Linked DNA regions of Homo sapiens: all the other regions are linked to region 1. The links are contacts of gene promoters, found by promoter capture Hi-C in blood cells and fetal thymus (Javierre and others, 2016). All regions are on one chromosome and are shown on one strand. Each heading gives the region's core, a stretch centred on a gene start or on the middle of the fragment in contact. The rest is flanking DNA. Distances are from core to core; before and after follow the strand shown.

Region 1 (2,699 bases), core at 111-2,610:
TGTGAATGCTGTGGGTGAGCAAGGACCTGGTGTAAGAGAACTGGGATTATAACAACTTAGGTTGAATTAAATGCAATGGGTTACAATTGAGTATATATAGAGAGACTGCTGAAGAGAATGAATGAGAAAGTGAGAAAGCTGAAGGTATCTGGTTGTAGGGCAGGCAGAAGGGTGGTCCTGGGATACCTGTAAGAAAAGATAATAATGCACAACCCTGCAATCAATGAGAGAGGAGTTCATAAGTAGCAGAAGTGTTTGGAGAATTAAGGTCTGGATGATAGCCCTTGCCCAAAAGTATGCAATTGCAGTTTTATGGTGGAAAGAATAGAATAAGATACAGAAGAGAGTCAGGCTGTTTCCTAAAGGAATAAGAAACATTGAGACAACCCCTCTCTCCCACCTCACCACTCTCCATGGAGAAAACTGAACTCACATTCAAACTGCAATTCATGGGCGTATCTACGAATTCCCTCAAATGACCGAATGGTGCGTATACGGAATAATGTTTCCAGTTCCTTCCACTCCTCATTGCTGAAGTTTCCCCTGGACCAGGGGCACAGGAAAACGATGGTGCTGGAATTGCTGTCCCAGGTATGAGTCTGCAAATCACTCAGCCAACCTGAGACCAGATTTTGTTTCCAGGAATGGTTGTAAAAGGATGCGATCCAGGTGACATGGAAGGAGAGAGGCTCCTTGAGCCCTGCGACAAAAGAACAGATAGAATGGGGAGAAAGACATTGAGAAAGAGGATGGAGAGAGAAAGGTGCCAGAGTGCGGGAACTCAGAATCTGGAGAAAAGGGGATCCATCATGATCTTAGCAGACATTCACTTGCCACACAGTCCCATGCCTTATCAACCACCTTCATAAGAGCTCAGGGACCTGGAGTCATGGATAGTCAGAATGGAACCAGCCTGGCACTCTCACTTTCCAGGTATATGCTAGGGAAACCACACACACACACACACACACACACACACACACACACACACACACACAGAGAGAGAGAGAGAGACCTTCACCCACCACCCAACTGGGCAGTTGTCAGAGTTCTTACCGTCTGCATTGCCATCACCTGGGAGAACAGCTAACAATGGAAGTAGCAAAAACAGCATATCATTTGCAGATGTTATTTCCTTCTCTCAGAAAAATTGGTCTTTGATTTCTGTTCCAAACAAACCTACCCCACGATATCTCTATTCTGACTTCTTTCTGCAGCCAACAGACAAACCTCCCCTGACTGCAACAAAGAAAATCCACTCCTTCAAAAACCCTGAGATGCCTACTCAGTCTCTCATTTCCCTCTGGTTCTGACTCTCCTCTCTGTTCCAGCTTCTCTCCTTGTCACCAACCTCCAACTTATTCACCTTCCCCTAATTCAACTGCTATGGAACAAGTCTGATGTGGCATTGAAAAGCCACTTAACCACTAAGGACATTTTTTTCTCAATCATACAATAAGAGCATAAAGTGAAATGGCTCCCAGTGTGCTGCCCAATGCTCCCATGTCCCTGCTCTTTTTGATCACTCTGTCCTTTTCAATATTTTCCCATGTATTCTCTTCCCCTGTCTCTTCAGCCCCTTACTACATTCACATTTCTGATTTAACATTGATTTATTTGCTTTTTCAGAGTCTCCTACGACTGCCCTGTGCGACAGTACAAACTAACACCTTTTCTCCATTATTCTTAGAGAAGAGCCAGTAACCATCACAAAAAAAAAAAAAAAAAAAAAAAAAAAAAAAAAAAAAAAAACCACAGGAACACTAAAACATATAAAGAAAATTTCCTCTGTTTGATTTTCATTGATATACATTCACTCACCCAACAGTCTCTCTTAGCACCTGCCTGGAGTCAAGCATCTTGGTACACTTAAGAATATGCAGTGGTTGACAACACAATCACTTTACTGAAGGAGCTTTTTCTCTACTTAGGGAGAAAAACACGCCATGAAATATAAATCTTGGTGTACTGAGTTTTATTATACTGTATACACTCTCTGGATAAAAACAAGGCCTGCTTGAAATAATATTTTCTAAAATGGGGGCTCCTAACTAATGTACGCCAGCCCAGAATTTTGACTTCAATGTTTGACTTGGAGTGTTAGTTCCATACAGTTATCATACTGTATCCCCACCTAACAGAGTATCTCACAAGTGGTAGGTGCTTAGTGAATATTTGTCAAATGAATGAATGAATTCAGTCTATGCATCCATTTTTTAATTATGGAGGTGATATTCAACATGAAACTTTTTAAAGATATCATAAAAGTTACTTGTAACCCTATGTAGTGAGATGAGAATCTCATACAGTTTTATTTAGGATAAAAGTACAAGTTACTGGCATGAGATTTACATAAAAGATCCTGCTATAAATGTCCTATTACTTATAAGAAACTAGTCAGAACTTGTGAGCAGTGAAGTTAATGGAGTATTCCAAAGTCTTTATCCCAGGATCCCTTTTTATTAGTCCTATTTGGATGTTTCAGGGTTGTTTTGTTATAAATGAGTCTTTGCCGGACACATTTACATTCCTCTTTTACGCTGCTTGTAACTGTTGAAGGGCTTCTAAATATATGTTTGTGCTTTGTAGATATCATCCATATAAATGTGTCTGGGCTATTTACTATTTTTTGGTTTTCAAAAAAAAAGTATCTGAAGCTAATTTAGGGGGAAAAAATTTTTTTTCTTGAGACAGGGTTT
Region 2 (2,699 bases), core at 108-2,607, 880 kb before region 1:
CAGGCAGTCTGTGAGACTGACATCTAATGCCGAGAGCCAGATTGTGGAGGAACTGATAAACCTTCTTAAGGAGTTAGGATTTTATCCTAAGAGAAAATACCAGCCAATGACAGATTTGAAGAGTGCGTGCGTGTGTGTGTGTGTGTGTGTGTGTGTGTGTGTGTGTGTGTGTGGTGACCAGGCTTAGATTTATAGTTTGGAATACAGTTTGAAAAGATTATTCCAGAAGAATTTGGAGAAAGACTGAAGGGAAGCTAGGTTGGAGACAGTTTGAGGGTATATGTGATATGGTGTTGGCTTGTATTAGAGAAGTGGAGAGAAAGAGAGAGAAGAGGATAAAACTGAGGGTCATTTAATATATCAAATGAATAAGACTCAGTGGAAATCAGCTGTAAGAGGCAAAGGGAAAAGGAGAGCCCAGGATGATTCCCGGCTTTCTGGCTTGAGCAAATGAGTGAATGGAAGTGCCTTTTAATGAGAAAGGGGATAGGTAGTGGAAGTAGATTCTCAAAAAGGCCAGGGAAGATGAGTATTTCCACTTTAGACATGTTGAATTTGAGGTGTCAAATATGTACCAGTAGATATGTCTAATGGGCAGCTAGATATATGAGCCTGGAACTGTGAAGAGAAATCTAGGTCAGAAATACAAGTTAGGAATGATCAGTCTGTTGTGAGTAAATTGATGTCTTGGGAGTGGTCAATATCTCATAGAAGGTAAAATAAGAAAAGAAGAATGGCTAAGAAGAAGCCCTGAGGAACCCATCATTTAAGGAATCATCAGAGGAGGTAGAAGCGAGCAAATGAGACTGGCCAGATAGGCAGGAAGAAAACTAGGAGGGCTGGGGCCAGAATCAATGAACAGATGCTTTTAAAAAAGGGTGCACGAGCCATAGTGTCAAATGTTGCTGATAAGGGCCGACGTTTCCTTTAGGATTTGGTAATACATGGGTTGTCAAGGGAAGCTTCAGTGGAGTGACAGAAGTGGACATTAGTGAGTTCCCAAGTGAGTGAGAAGTGAGGAAGGAGAAGCAAGGAGTGTATACAATTAAAACATTTGTTGTGAAATGGAGTTAGTGGATGGGATGGGAGCTGGAGGGAGAAGTGTGTGGTTTAGGGAGTGGTTTGTTTGACAGGGAATGGTAGTGAATGTTTAAATGCTCATGGAAGTTATCTCATAAAGACAAACATTGAAGGAACAAGAGAGAGGAGTAATCAATAGATAGTTTAGTATTTGAGGAGGCAGTCAGAGATAATGATAATAGTAGTAATGAAAGTTGTTCCCCTCTTATTCAGTAACTGTTCTGAGGGCATGATTCCATTTAATTCCTACACAGCCTCTCCTACAGAGGTACTTTTTATTGTTATCCTGTTTTTTTGAGATAAGGAAACTGAGGCATAGAATGGTACTCTGAGTAACCAACATCACATAGTAAGTGGTGGAGACAGCATTGATACCCAGTCAATCTAGCTTGAGACTTGCACCATTAACCACAGTGTCCTATTGTTGGGTTCACAACCTGGCTGTAGACTCAACCCTTAGTACTGTAACTGAAGAGAAGGTGGATAGAGCAGGTACAAATGCAGTTGTCAGCTTAGTTAGCATCATGAATTTTCTAGAGATGCCATAACAAATTTCCCCAAACTGGGTGCCTCAGAAATTACAGAGATTTATTCTGTCAAAGTTTTGGAACCCAGAAGTCCAAAATCAAGGTCAAGATGTAAGCAGATTTTCACTCCTCTGAACAAGCTTCTTAGCTTGGGTCTGCATACTTCCAAACTCTGCCTCTGTCTTTACCTGGCCATCTTTTCTGTGTCTCAGATCTCTCTCTGCATTTCTCTGTAAGGATGCCTGCCATTGGATTCCAGGCCCGCCCTAAATCTACAATGATCTCATCTCAAGATCCTTACATTAATTACATCTGCAAGATGCTTTTTACAAATGAGGTCACATTCATAGGTTTTAAATGTTAAAACCTGGGCATGTCTTTTTGGGGTCCACTGTTCAATCCACTGCAGTTAGGAGATTGGATGAGTTTCTGACAAGTGGACTTGATAATTTCTGTGAGGTAACAATGTGGGTTATTTGCTGAGAATGTGTCCCAATGTAGAGGGATCAAACATATAAGGGGAGTGAAGAAATCTTGAAGTATCATTATTAAAATATGAAGAGTGAGCTGACTAGGAAATGTAGTTTGTGGAGCAGTGTGGAGAACCAGATGAAGTTTATTGTCATGAATTTATAGTTGTGTGATTTTCCCTAGCAATGATTAGCAGCCCGGGTGCAAACACTGAGGAAGCTGAGAGTTAAAGTATCTAGATCCTGGAAAGAGGGGGTGTGGGAGGGAAGGAAGGACAAAGGCAGAGGGGGTTAGGATACTGGCAAGTGGCTTTCCATGGAAGGCCATAGAGGTGAAGAAGTCGGATAGAGGACTACTGGCTTGGTCAAAAGCAGTCAAAAGAGTGGGAGTAACTGAGTGAACTCGCTATAACGATACTAGGCCATTCTCCAAGTACAGAATATTTATTACTTTAAACACACAAAAAAATCTGGATTAGTGGTTGCAGTAAAGGCAAATAGAAGTTTAATGGAGATAGAAAACTCAAAGGAAAGAGAGGACGGGATTCTGGACAGGCCACTCGTGTAACCCCAGAGTCATGCAGAAAAATGGCAGGGCTTGGGGTGGTGTGTGTGTGTGTGT
Region 3 (2,699 bases), core at 139-2,638, 840 kb before region 1:
GGGGCAGAATTCAGACTTTTCTGTCTCCTGCAGCTCAAGAATTCATGCCCTTGTAGGGGTGAAAGAGAGGTAGGGATCTGCCTACTTCCCGACTTTATTTTCTTTTTTACAATCCCAGATTTTCTGTGCCTTGGAGCTGCCTAAATCTCAGAGCAACCTAATGAGTAGGAAATCACCTAGATCACAAGCAGGTGACAATATCGAAGGATGAAGGGAATACTTTTTGTTTGTTTTTGTCGCTAAAGGCCAGTTTAGTCTCTGTATACCCCCCATTCCCCCCATCATCCTTCACCCTCAGGGAATGAAAGTTACCTCTAAGTCTTGAAGCAGCCCATGTCATACCTGTGCTCTCCAGCCTGCTGGTACCTACAAATAGTTACAGGCATTCTTCTTCTGGTTGGTCCCAGCTCTGAGTCTACTGAGCCATGGTGTGTCTGCCTTGAGAGTGCCTTTTGCAATTCTGTCTATGATCATACCTCAGGAAAGAAATGGCAAGCCACAGAAATTATGAAAAGTTTAGAGAGGCAGTCTTACAAAGAAATAAATTTAAATTGTCTCTTAAAGCTGGAAAAGGAGCCCGTGGATATATAGAGCACCAAAATCCATAAAATTTTTAAAATGAAAATAAATAGCAATTTACTTATTAAATACTATATTATTATTCCCCTGGTATACATGACACATCCAACATTTATTAAGCTCAGACTATGAGCTATTCATTGTGCTAGGTGATTCACACATTATCCTGTTTCTTTTCACAACATTACTGCAAGATAGGCATTATATTTTTATTTTACAGACAAGAATCAGAGAGAGAGAGGCTAAGTAACCCTCCCAAGGCCAACTAGCTAGTGAATGAAGTAGGATTTGAAGATGCATTAAAAATGTTTTAAGTGTCTGCTTTTTCTACTACACAAAGTTGCCTGTCTTGAAGCACAAAGGAGAAGGCTGGGACAACTAATTAAAGAAGGATCTTTTCAGCCTACAGTAGCATTGTGTTTATGTTGAATCAGGAACCAGCACCCTTGTCTCTGGTAGTGGAGTCATCCCAAAGCCCAGATGTACTCTACCAAGACAGCTTATAATCTGGCTTGTGGTAACATGAGATTTTATGAAAATGGACCTTTATTATGTGATGTCTCAAATTTTATTGAGATTTAATATATGAGACCCTAGTCTAATTCCATACTCTTTGCAATTTCTTCTCAATTTGATCCCTCCTTTCACTATAATATCCCTGAAATGAAAAATGAACATCCATAGTCACCAGTATAAAGCATTGAATTGAAATTTTGAGGCTCTCCTTTTCAGTGGTCTTACCTTCTTAGGGAACTCTTGATAATATACAATGTATGATATTGCCAATTAAGAGACTAAAATGTTAAATACTTCTAACCACTACAGATTTCCAAGCATCCTTTATAATATTTTAAGAGTATTTTTTTTTCACTTCAAGACAAACGTGGTACCTTAAAATTCTTAATTTACATACATTTTCTATATCAGACAGAGTAAACTAGGTATCTTTCAGCAAAGGAGGAAGGTCCAGAAAAAAGTGCAGAACATAGCAGAGAGCATTCTTGAGCACGTAGCTGGGGAAACAGAGGTAACAGCTGTCACATAAGCAGAGGCCCTGTAGGCCCGGGTGGCAGATACAAGGTCTCAATGCTCTTACTTCACCTTTCTCTTCCTGAGCCCTCAGTACTGAGAATTCATGGCTCAAGTACATGCAACCACTACCAAATTGATTCGAGTTGACATTTGTAACAAAAACTATTCTCTATCATGCTTTATTTTTTTTTCTGCCTCGGGGAAATGGCTGAATCATTTCACAAATCCCTTAGGATACAGAGACAGAGAGAAGGGATAGATTTAAATGTTTTCTTCCTTTTGATTTAGACTGACTATAATGCTTGATGATAAAGCATGTACAACAAAAATAAACACTTTCCATAATTATATTAATTTACGGATAGCAATGAAAATGATCTGAAGGGATTTCTGCAGAAGAGTTAATACCTGTAGTGCTTCTCTCTCTGGATGATGGGATTATGAGTGTTGTTCTTTGTCTGCTTTTGTTTGGCTACATTTTCTGGATTTTTTTTCAGTAATGATTTAAATTGCCCGCTTTTGTAACAGAGACAAAAAGAAATGGGCTTAATAAAAGAAATAATAATTTTTTTGATATTCAGGGTTTTTTTTTACCTTTTTCGCATAAGCAGCCTAGACTAAGAATAATTGGCCCCAAATAAATTAGACATACAAAGCAAAAAGGTAAAATGACATTCTCAATTTTGGAAAGTTGATTTTTAAAATGTAAATTTCATAAATCATTGCAAAAAATTTGTATGGTATGTCAAGTTACCAATACTTAAAAAAATTCAGTGAGAACATTTGATTTGTTTTCTTTTCATTTTTTCTTCGGAGACAGAGTCTCGCTCTGTCGCCCAGGCTGGAGTGCAGTAATGCAATCTTGGCTCACTGCAACCTTTGCCTCCTAGTTTCAAGCGATTCTCCAGCTTCAGCCTCCCGAGTAGCAGGGATTACTGGTGCACGCCACCAAGCTCAGCTAAGTTTTTATATTTTTAGTAGAGACAAAGTTTCACCATGTTGGCCAGGCTGGTCTCGAACTCCTGACCTCAAGTGATCCACCCACCTCGGCCTCTCAAAGTGCTGGAATTACAGGCATGAGCCACTGC
Region 4 (2,699 bases), core at 60-2,559, 820 kb before region 1:
TTAGGGCAGGGAAACCACCCTGTATGATACTGTGAGGGTGGATACTCATTATACATTTGTCCAAACCCACAGAATGTACAACACCAAGTGTACCCTAGTGGCAACTCTGGAGTCTGGGTGATAATGATGTGTCATGCTCAGTCCACCCTGGTGGGAATGTTGATAATGGGGAGGCTGTGCATGTGTGAGGGAAAAGGGTATATGGAAACCTGTACCTTCAGCTCAATTTTACTGTGAGCCTAAAACTGCTTTAAAAAATAAAGTCTACTAAAAAGAAAAAAACTGGAAAAAAAATGCAAAGTGACATGCTTTTGTGTGTGTTCTTTCTCATTCATCAAATTCGGTATTTATTTGATAACTTGCTTTTTTCTCCATTCGCTCTTGTTTAAATGCTTATTAGCTGGTTATTATTCATCGGGGCATAAACCTGTATATTTCTTATTTTTTTTCTCTCCTGTTTTTCCATTTTATTCTTTTCTAGGCATACTTTTAGAAAGAGATCTTCAGCTTTATCACTCTATTAGCTTTAAAACTTTTCTGCTATCACATTTAGAAAATATATTTATAAAATCTCTTCTGTAATTTGTTCATTTTTTACAAGTATTAGCACTGTCTTTTTGTTTCATGGATGCAATGTCTTTTCTTATCTCTCTGATGACCATATATATTTCTTCTTCTACCCTCTGCTTTGTCCTTAAGTTCCTTCTTCTGATTTGTTTTCTGTTTTTTTTTTAAGTTGGAGGCTTTTCTGAATGTTATTTATGTCTGTTTACTCATATTTAAGAAAGAAATGTCCATACATGTATACACACAAAACTGACTTGAATTCTTTTTGCGTTGGCCTGGTTTATTTATGAGTTAGTTTAATTATAGGATTGGCACGAAAGGGCCTGAGTCTTTGTATTGGAAAACTCAAAATGTCAGTAACGGTGAGAGTTTTTCCCTTCTTGGGCCAGTTGCTACAGTAGGAGCCTCCAGTCTTCTGCTTATGGCATAAACCTTGCTGTCAGTACTCTAGAAGTCAGGGAGGAAAGGGCTTGGGGATCCCACTTTTCTCCGTGAGACTGTTAACAAACCTCCTTTTTCAGCACAGTTGCCTCCTTTCCCTTCTGTGTCTTGTGTCACCAAGTTGGGTATCTCTCTGATTAAATTTCTTGGTAAAACAAAGCTGGACGATGAGTACTTGTCTCTCTGCCCCAGGTGCAGCAGTGTACCTGCTCCTCATTGAGACCACTTCCCAGCTTAATCACTTAACTCACCTTTTACAGGACCTGAAGCCTCAAATCAGTACGCCTCTCTGGGGTTGGTGCTTGTTGGGTTCTTCCTCAACAGGGAGCTTTCTCTCGTTTACTCAGTAGGTTACCAAATTCATACACTTCACATCTTTTTAATTCTTACATATTGTTCTCTTTGGTGTTCTTTCGCCTTGTGTGATCCACTCATTCATGCATTCACTCATTCAACGAATATTTTCTGAACACCTTCTCTGTGCCTGGCACTGTGTCAGGTGAAGTGGATGCAGTGAGCCAGTGGGCAGAAATCTCTTCCCTCATGTGCCTTACATTTTAGGAGCATGAGGCAGAGAATAAACAAACAAATGACATATACCGTATGTCAGATGATGGTCAGTAACACGTGTGGGAAAAGATAATGTGGGGAAGAGGTAGAGAACATGCTGGTCAGAGAAGCCCCACAGATAAGGTGCTATTTGAGCTGAAAGCTGGCAAAAGTGTAGAAACAAGCCTTGCAGTAGAAAGTGAAGGAGGTCCTGCAGCTCTGGGCTGATTACCTGGGCATGGTTAGGTGCTCTTCCTCTGCTCCTTGAGCATCTTGAGCATGCTTTAATTATAACACTTATCATCATGTCCTATTGTGATTATTAAATCACATGTCTGTTTTCATGACTTGGCAGAGCCGCTCAACATCTGGAACTTTGTCTTACTAACTTTTATATTCTCAGAATCTAATACATCATATTAGATGTTCAGTGCATAATTGTTAATTCAATGAATAAGAAAGGAAAACCTCAAGTAAATTGCTGACTAGAATCAAGCCCTCAAGCTCTGAATTTAGGGTTAGGAGCCTGGGTTAGGAAGAAAGACTGTATATATGCTTTTGAGGCAAGCAGTCAGTGAGGGAATGAGGCATGATTACTTGCAGGTGGCTACAAGCAATAAAAATGCGGTCAAAAAGGTTAGCAGAGGGATTGCCCCACTAGTAGATAGGAACTGTTACAACAGCCTGTGACAATGAAGACAGATTGCAAACTTCCTACTTAGGCACAGATGAGAATGTAACACAGAAGAAACTGGCCGCAACTGGTTAAAGCCAAGATGGTCGAAAACTTGGCTGACTGCTGACCCTTAGCTTCATTATGCCCTTAATATCATAAAACTTCCATGGGGAAATTCCCACTCCCATCATGCACCTGACGCCATGACAGTTCCGGATTAACCATCTTTAGTCAAGAAAAGGGTGGCACCCCGATTCCGGGAATTGCCCGCCCATTTCCCAGAAAACCCCTCCCCTTGATTACAGAGTACTCCATACCTTCATTGTGCTTATTCATATAGTACGTGAACCACATTGCCTGTGACTCAAATCTTTGAGTGCCTGCACTCCTCCCTTGAGGGTGTCGTTGGTTTTGCTCCACAATAAAATGTCTATACTTTCGCTTGGGTCTCATTTTCAGATTCTCT
Region 5 (2,699 bases), core at 98-2,597, 810 kb before region 1:
GCCAACATGGTGAAACCCCATCTCTACTAAAAAAAAAAAAAAAAAAAAAAAAAATAGCCGGGCACGGTGGTGGGCACCTGTAATCCCAGCTACTCGGGAGGCTGAGGCAGGAGAATCACTTGAACCCAGGAGGCGGAGTTTGCAGTGAGCTGAGATTGCGCCATTGCACTCCAGCCTGGGTGATAGAGTAAGACTCTGTCTCAAAAAACAAAAAGATCCTGTATCCAGAATTTATAAAGAACACTCAAAATTCAATAATTGCAGAACAACCAATTAAATGTTTAAAATGGGCAAAAAGATGATACATGGATGTCAAATAAGCACATAAAAATACACTCAACATAATTCATCTTTAAGGAAATGGAAACTAAAACTACAGTGAGATGCCATTATATATTTATTAGAACAGCTAAAATTTAAATTAAAATAGATTACCCATACCAAGTGCTGACAAAGATTTGGAAAAACTGAAACTCTTGTGCACTGCTGGTGGGAATGTCAAATGGTATAACCTTTATGCAAAAGAGTTTGTCCATTTTTAAAAACTTAATATGCATCTACAATGCTAAGGTCTGAGAAGGATACAGAGCAATTGAAACTCTTACTTATTGCTGGTGGGAATGAAAAGTCACATTAGAAAAGAGTTTGGAAATTTCTTATAAATTTAAACATATGCTTACCACATGACACAGCAAGCTTGCTGTAAGTTTTTTATCCACTTGAAATAATTATGTATGTTCACACAAAAATCTGCATGTAAATATTCATGAAAGTTTATTTGTAATTATGCAAAAGTGCAAAAAACTCGATTATCCCTCACCTGAAAAATGAATAAACAAACTTTGGTAGATCCACATAATTGAATTGTACTCTGCAATAAAAAGAATAACTACTGACACCCACATCTACATGGATAGATCTTTACTCTAAGTGAAAGAAGCCAGACTCAAAATTCTACATACATTTTAATTTCATTTTATGACATTCCATAAAGGGCAAAAGTATAGTAAAGACTAGATCAGTGGTTTCTAGGAGCTTGGAGTTGAGAGGAAGGCCGGCAACAAAGCAGCAGGAAGGAAATTTTTGTTATGATGAAACTATTCTCTATCTTAACTTTTGTGGTAGTTTCATGACTACATGCATTTGTAAAAATTCACAGAAATAAGTATGATTGTTTGTAGATTATGCCATGATAAACATGGAAAACATGCATCAGGTTGGAAGATAGAATTATGGATGTTTTTGATATTCTGATTTTTTTTTATTTCTCTGGAATAAATACTCATTGCTTTTATAATAAATAAGAAAGATGAAACTTTAAAGAGACTCACAGAAATCAGGGACTTTAAAACAATGAATATTCCTTATCCGTTAGGTTAATAATGTCCAGGATTTGTGAATGTGATGATGATATGATTAAGGAAAATGTCCTCAGAAGTGTTAGTTGAAACATCAGTTTGGCAACATTACTAGTAATTATGTTCATATTATTTGACCCAGTAATTCCACATATAGGTATTTAACCTAAAATGTCGGCTTTGGTGCTATTGCATACCTCAAAACCACTTGATACAAACTGGTCTGTAAAATGTTTATGAGGACAGATTAGCATCTCTGTGAGTTGTTCTATCCTCTCTGGTCTACACACTACAGATCTAGGGGAAGCTCCAGCTTCTCATCTGCTTGATTTGAGTCCCATGGAGAAGCTCTGATATGTGGTAAGGTGGAAAAATATGACACGGTGCGATCAAGGCATTAGAGGATGAAGCTATTGAAGTGAAAACAAAATTGAAGAGGCAAATTCTTTTGAGCAGAGGGTAATTTTTTTCTTATTTCATTTAAAGATAGATTGTCCTTAGGAAGTACAGTTCAAAGGGGAATCAGCATGATGTTAAGGAAAGCAAGCAAAGGTGGGGATGTAGCAGCCCACCTAAATGACACTAACTCCAAATCACCATCATCCAGGGTACTCAAGAATAGGCAATTACAGAAAGCTTACCTCAAGTGATATGAAATATTAGACTAGCTGAGAATACAAACATCATCTGTGTATAAAACAGTCCTTTTTCTTAGAGTTCATTAAGTCAAATTTGAATTTAGAGGCAGTTTTAGCAGTCTATGACATCTTAGTATGGCATCTGTTCCTAACTAGCTGAGTGATACTGTGATTTTGACCACTTCACTCAATCTCTCTGAACTTCAGTATTCTCAAAGATGAGAAAACTGGCTTCTGTAGCATCTGAAGTTTCTTCAGAATCTGGTTTCCCAAAATGAGCAAAATAATCTTAAACACATATACACACACATATACATACACAGATATATATATGTGTGTGTGTGTGTTTGGTGTGTGTGTGTGTGTATAAGAATAGCATTGGGCAAAAAAATATAAAAATGTCTAATTGGCATCTAAGCCTACTATAATGAAAGACACATAAGCAGAAAGGTAGTGTAAAACAGTACGTTTTTATTATTTCACTCTTTGACGGCAGACCACAATGGTAAACTTTAACGTCTCTTTTCCTTATTGGGCATAGATAGCTTTGGACCTTCGCAGTAGTGAGACAGCCAGATGGGAAGGGGTCCCCAGAGAAACTCCAGCCCGCACACTGGGCAGAGTGTGCACTGGGGTGGAGCCACAGAAGTTTGCGCCATTTGCAGTGGACAGGAGCCTGGCCCCTCCTCTTCCTGGATGGAAC
Region 6 (2,699 bases), core at 92-2,591, 770 kb before region 1:
GGCTCACACCTGTAATCTTAGCACTTTGGGAGGCCAAGCCAGGTGGATCACCTGAGGTCAGGAGTTTGAGACCAGCCTGGCCAGCACGGTGAAACCCCATCTCTACTAAAGATACAAAAATTAGCCAGGCGTGGTGGCAAGCACCTGTAATCCCAGCTACTCGAGAGGCTGAGGCAGGAGAATCGCTTGAACCCGGGAGACAGAGGTTGCAGTGAGCCAAGATCGCGCCATTGCACTCCAGGCCTGGGGGACAAGAGCGAGACTTCGTCTCAAAAAAAAAAAAAAAAGAAAGAAATAAAGAAAATGACCATACTGCCAAAAGCAATCTACAAATTCAATGCAATTCCCATCCAAATACCAACATCATTCTTCACAGAACTAGAAAAAAAAATCCTAAAATTCATATGGAACCAAAAAACAGACCACATAGCCAAAGCAAAACTAAGGAAAAAGAACAAAAGGAAGAAATCAGGAAGCATCATATTACCTGACTTCAAAGTATACTATAAGGCCATAGTCACCAAAATAGCATGGTTCTGGGTATAAAAATAGGCATATAGACCAATGGAACAGAATAGAGAACCCAAAAATAAACCCAAATACTTACAGCCAACTGATCTTTGACAAAGCAAACAAAAACACAAAGTGGGGAAAGGACATCCTATTCAACAAATGGTGCTGGGATAATTGGCAAGCTACAAGTAGAAGAATGAAACTGGATCCTCATCTCTCACCTTATACAAAAATCAACTCAAGATGGATCAAGAACTTAAATCTAAGACCAGAAACCATAAAGATTCTAGAAGATAATATCGGAAAAACCTTCTAGAGAGTGGCTTAGGCAGAGACTTCAGGACTAAGAACCCAAAAGCAAATGCAACAAAAACAAAGATGAATAGATGGAACTTAATTAAGCTAAAAAGCTTCTGCGTAGCAAGGGAAATAATCAGTAAACAGACAACCCACAGAGTGGGAGAAAATATTCACAAACTATGCATCTGACAAAGGACTAATATCCAGAATCTATGAGGAACTCAAGCAAATCATCAAGAAAAAAACAAATATAAAAAATTAAAATGAGTCTATAAAAGTTTTACTTTATGGTCAGACATTAAAATTGGATAAATAATGTCTACAATATTTTACTAAAATTAAATTTAACATTAATAGCACATTAATATAAAGGTAAAATTTAACTTATTTAGTATAAAATTATACAAAAAATAGTCAAATATAAAATGGTGTTTATTTTTTTTTAAGTCCCGAGGGTGGCCAGGTAAGTCACAATGCCCCTCATCCCCAAGGCCATAGCACGCGGGGGTGGTGAAGGCCACAAGAAGGCCAAGACTTCAAGAGGGGCCAGGGCCACAGCATCCCTTGGGCGGCGCTGAGCAGGAATGGAGCGGGAGGCGTCACCATGGGGCTTCAAGCCCCAGGATATGCAACAAAAATTATATGCTTATTTTCCACTTTCTTTTCCCTCAGAACTAAAAGTCTTTTAGCACAGGTACCACCCCTAGAATTTCCAGTACACCAGCACCAGCCTGAAAACCATGTTCTTATTAAAAGATGAAAAAAGATTAAAAAAAAAAACTCGAGCCTGGGAAGGACCCTATTTTATGTATTAACCACTGAGACCGCCGTCCGCACAGCTGAGAAAGAATGGACCCATCATATTTGAGTCAAGAAAACATCTTCTTCGTTAGAATTATGGGTTACTGTACTAAGATTAAGCCCTTCTAAGTTAAAGAAAGCTTCATTTTAATACATCTTTTATATATTTTTTTCTTTTGTTATTAGCTCCTTTGTTATAAATATAACTAAGTCTAACTCACCTTAGACCATTGTCTTTAATGCTTGTTTTCTCATACTTTGTGGAAATAAAAAAAGATTAACGACAGCTAGCCTTTTCACACAAATATTTATGTCCCGGCCCTCTAATTGACACAATTACCCGTAGCACTCATCATTGTGAGCACCTGCAGCCAAGGCATCGATTTTCTGCTCCTACAGCCTGGCAACCTTGTAGTAAATGGGACTACATCCTTTAAACTACTCAAGAGCAAAGTTAGACTTCCACAAAAAAGGTTTGTGCAGATCTAAAACCCTTCATCTATTTCACCAAAAGGGCTACCCCTTCTAACTGTCAGCCCTTATCAATGTAACTCTGTCCTTCTCTTTATCACCACCTCCACCTTAACTAACTCTAGACCTGCCCTTGGTCGCTTAGATGGCATGGGGATTGACATAAATGAAAAAGACCCCCTAGGTGTTTTTAAAACACGCATTATTCCCCCATCTTCCCCTTCTTCAGTAGCCTCGGTTCTAGATCCCACACCAGTTGCCCCTACATCTAATAATAAAACTAGGTTGTCTATTGTAAAAATAAGACATCTAAGACAGACCTTAGCCATTAAGACAAAATATCAAGATGCAAATGCCTGGCTGGAATGAATTAAATATTCCCTTCGCACTTTAAATAAAAATTATTATCACGCTTGTACGCATGGTAGCCCAGAGGGCCAGATTATCCCCTTTCCACTCGGACGGTCTCCTCATTGACCAGAAATGGACATATGGTGGCTCTCTTGCAAAATCCCACAGTTTAGGATAATCCATCATGCTGAGCTCTCTATCTGTTATTTCCTGAAACTCAATACCCCGGGGGTCCGCCCCCGAGGGCAAGCCTGCTTCCACCT
Region 7 (2,699 bases), core at 1-2,500, 750 kb before region 1:
GTGTGGGGTATTTTCTTAACTCGCTTGGGTACAACAATATAAGCACAAGGCAAGCTCAGACCAAAGAAGAGGCAGACCACTCCTGGCTGGTTGGTAGTCAAAGATCTAGATAGCAGAAACTTACACAGGAGGCAGTCTTAAGCGGGAACAAGAGAAGTCAGATCTCCACCTCGCAGTGCACGCCTGAGTAGTCTTTCAGACAGTGAGAAGAAACAAGGAAGGAAAAGCTGATGGGGGCGCTGAGGGGTGGGGATAGCTATACCGATAGTGCCTTAGGCCATCTGGTTGCTCTCTTAATCTATTTACTTCCTGCTTAAATGGATTGTTTGAGCTTCCTTCAATCTGTTCCACATTGCTAAGGAGTGGGAGGATGTTCCTGGAAGCAGCAGTCATCTTGGTGCCAGTATGCATTTTCCAGTGGGACTGCAGCCTCCTACAATTCAATTTAAGCTCAGTTCCCAGAACACGTTTTCACAACAATGCCATTCCTTCCCCTCCAACCTCAAGGCTTCTCTCAGCCAGTCCTTCCTTGAAATTTTGTAGTTTCTGTATTGCAGTTTTGTATTCTACTTTTCCTGTTGCTCAAAGCTAATGCCATAAACTCCAGACAACTCTGTTGGCAGAAAGAGCTTCTGTAGTTCTAGGGATGACCTCTTTACTTTGGAGTGGAATAAAAGAGACTCAGTGTTGAGGCAGGAGAGGAGAGTGAATGCATATGGAAACCTGGGGAGTGATGTGAACCAGTCATGATATACTGTACAAGGCCAGAGTTGGCATCATTCATCTGTTTATTGCATGTCTCATGGAGAAAATATGAGTGAAAGAAGTTTCTGGTTCATGAAAACTCCTGTTCTCTGACCCTCCCTGTAATGGACATGCATACTTTCCCACTGTCTTAGTCCATTTAGTGCTGCTGTAATGGAATACTATAGACTGGGTAATTTATACAGAACAGAAATGTATTTCTCACAGTACTTGAGGTGGAAGTCCAAGGTCAAGCATCAGTATCTGGTGAGGCCTTCTTGCTGTGTCCTCACATGACAAACGGGGCGAATTCACCCCCTACATGCCCGTTAGAGTGGCATTAATCAGTCTATTTACGTGAGTGAAATTCTCATGATCTAAATACCTCCCATTTGGCCCAAGCTCCCAACACTGTTGCATTGGGTACTAAGTTTCAACATTATTTTTGAAGGGGGTAAAAACATTGATAGTTTCTACTTCTCCGGCTTTATCTCTGCTATCTTCATTCTTTATTTGCTTATTTTATCTAAAACTGTTCTCCAGAAAGCATTCTTTGAGGATCTTTACTAGATTGATAATTTCTTTACTCTGTTTAATTTCAGGACTTCACTTTGGCTGTCAAAATTTCCCTTGATATAATTTATCTCTAAAATTGAAGATGAGATTCTCTACTGTTGTCAGTAATGAACTCTCCACCCTAAACATCTGGTTTTGGGAATTTTTTTTCTTTTGAGACGGAGTCTTGCTCTGTTGTGATGGCACGATCTCGGCTCATTGCAACCTCTGCCTCCCAGGTTCAAGTGATTCTCCTGCTTCAGCCTCCTAAGTAGCCAGAATTACACGCATGCACCATCAAGCCTGGCTAATTTCTGTATTTTCAGTAAAGACAAGGTTTCACCATGCTGGCCAGGCTGGTCTCAAACTCCTGATCTCAAGTGACCCACCCACCTCGGCCTCCCAAAGTGCTGGGATTAGAGGCGTGAGTCACGATGCCCGGCTGGTTTTGGGAATTCTTACCCCAAATTACTAACATCTATAATTTACTCAGATTTACTTAGCAATAAGGGCAAAATTAACTGAAATTTAGATTTCTTAACCTTTTTTTTTTCTTTTGGAGATAAGGTCTTGCCATGTTGCCCAGGCTGATCTCAAACTCCAGAGCTCAAACAATCTACCTACCTCAGCCTCCCAAAGTGCTGGGATTACAGGCATAAGCCACCACATCCATCCTTAATATTTTGGCTGGAATTTGGGTATTAATATATTAAGAAGAGAGAAATAAAATTTACAAGTAATGGAGAAGTGGTGTTTGAATTTTATTTCCTTTTATGTTTTAGATTAAGGGTTGACAATCTTTGGTTCAAGGAAAGAAACTGCTGTTCACACAAATAAGTGCTTCTATGTGTTTGAATGTTTAAGGTATCAAGTCATGAGTGTCAGAAATGCAAAATAATACAGAATTGGCTGGGCGCGGTGGCTCACGCCTGTAATCCCAGCACTTTGGGAGGCTGAGGCGGGCGGATCACAAGGTCAGGAGATCGAGACCATCCTGGCTAACACAGTGAAACCCCGTCTCTACTAAAAATACAAAAAATTAGCTGGGCATGGTGGCGGGCGCCTATAGTCCCAGCTACTCGGGAGGCTGAGGCAGGAGAATGGTGTGAACCCAGGAGGCGGAGCTTGCAGCGAGCCGAGCTCATGCCACTGCACTCCAGCCTGGGCGACAAAGCGAGACCCCGTCTCAAAACATAATAATAATAATAATAATAATACAGAATTATGGACATACAAGATAGGAGAAGTTTATGGTGCAAATACCTATCGCCTTGGTCTTTTTGTTCCCTAACTCAGTGACAGGTGGCTAACTGCTCCTTAGGCTGATAGAGCCAAAACGTGATTCCAGCCTAAGAATCACAAAAGAGCAAAACAGAGGAGGGATTGCTTAGGTAACAGAG

The links. Contacts are between HindIII fragments. The CHiCAGO score rates a contact against its expected background, and 5 or more counts as called.
Region 2: a fragment that was not itself captured here is called in contact with the fragment with the promoter of CD1A in region 1 in 1 of 17 cell types (activated CD4 T cells); the score reaches 5.3 in activated CD4 T cells.
Region 3: a contact is called between a fragment that was not itself captured here and the fragment with the promoter of CD1A in region 1, in 4 of 17 cell types (total CD4 T cells, activated CD4 T cells, M2 macrophages and 1 more). The highest score is 9.7, in total CD4 T cells.
Region 4: a fragment that was not itself captured here is called in contact with the fragment with the promoter of CD1A in region 1 in 2 of 17 cell types (naive CD8 T cells and total CD4 T cells); the score reaches 6.2 in naive CD8 T cells.
Region 5: a fragment that was not itself captured here is called in contact with the fragment with the promoter of CD1A in region 1 in 1 of 17 cell types (naive CD4 T cells); the score reaches 6.0 in naive CD4 T cells.
Region 6: a contact is called between a fragment that was not itself captured here and the fragment with the promoter of CD1A in region 1, in 1 of 17 cell types (fetal thymus). The highest score is 7.1, in fetal thymus.
Region 7: a fragment that was not itself captured here is called in contact with the fragment with the promoter of CD1A in region 1 in 5 of 17 cell types (fetal thymus, M0 macrophages, M2 macrophages and 2 more); the score reaches 14.4 in fetal thymus.

What each region holds. Positions count from the first base shown.
Region 1 is chr1:158,253,085-158,255,783 of GRCh38, reverse strand. CD1A (CD1a molecule) reads right to left here and starts at 1,360. Exons shown (of 6, transcript NM_001763.3): 1 at 1,057-1,360; 2 at 434-700. The coding sequence starts at 1,114. The HindIII fragment of the contact is 5,152 bases long and covers 1-2,699 here.
Region 2 is chr1:159,128,275-159,130,973 of GRCh38, reverse strand. It overlaps a transcript of AIM2 not described here. Among named protein-coding and RNA genes, the nearest start is that of TRR-TCT4-1, 12 kb to the left of the region's middle. The HindIII fragment of the contact is 785 bases long and covers 965-1,749 here.
Region 3 is chr1:159,094,423-159,097,121 of GRCh38, reverse strand. It overlaps a transcript of AIM2 not described here. Among named protein-coding and RNA genes, the nearest start is that of AIM2, 19 kb to the right of the region's middle. The HindIII fragment of the contact is 6,509 bases long and covers 1-2,699 here.
Region 4 is chr1:159,077,122-159,079,820 of GRCh38, reverse strand. It overlaps a transcript of AIM2 not described here. Among named protein-coding and RNA genes, the nearest start is that of AIM2, 1.7 kb to the right of the region's middle. RefSeq lists an enhancer at 2,314-2,613. The HindIII fragment of the contact is 4,181 bases long and covers 1-2,699 here.
Region 5 is chr1:159,058,914-159,061,612 of GRCh38, reverse strand. It overlaps a transcript of AIM2 not described here. Among named protein-coding and RNA genes, the nearest start is that of AIM2, 17 kb to the left of the region's middle. The HindIII fragment of the contact is 1,298 bases long and covers 699-1,996 here.
Region 6 is chr1:159,023,887-159,026,585 of GRCh38, reverse strand. All of the region lies in intron 6 of IFI16 (interferon gamma inducible protein 16), which reads right to left. Among named protein-coding and RNA genes, the nearest start is that of IFI16, 15 kb to the right of the region's middle. The HindIII fragment of the contact is 831 bases long and covers 926-1,756 here.
Region 7 is chr1:159,003,467-159,006,165 of GRCh38, reverse strand. It overlaps a transcript of IFI16 not described here. Among named protein-coding and RNA genes, the nearest start is that of PYDC5, 2.1 kb to the right of the region's middle. RefSeq lists enhancers at 1-253, 254-779. The HindIII fragment of the contact is 4,916 bases long and covers 1-2,699 here.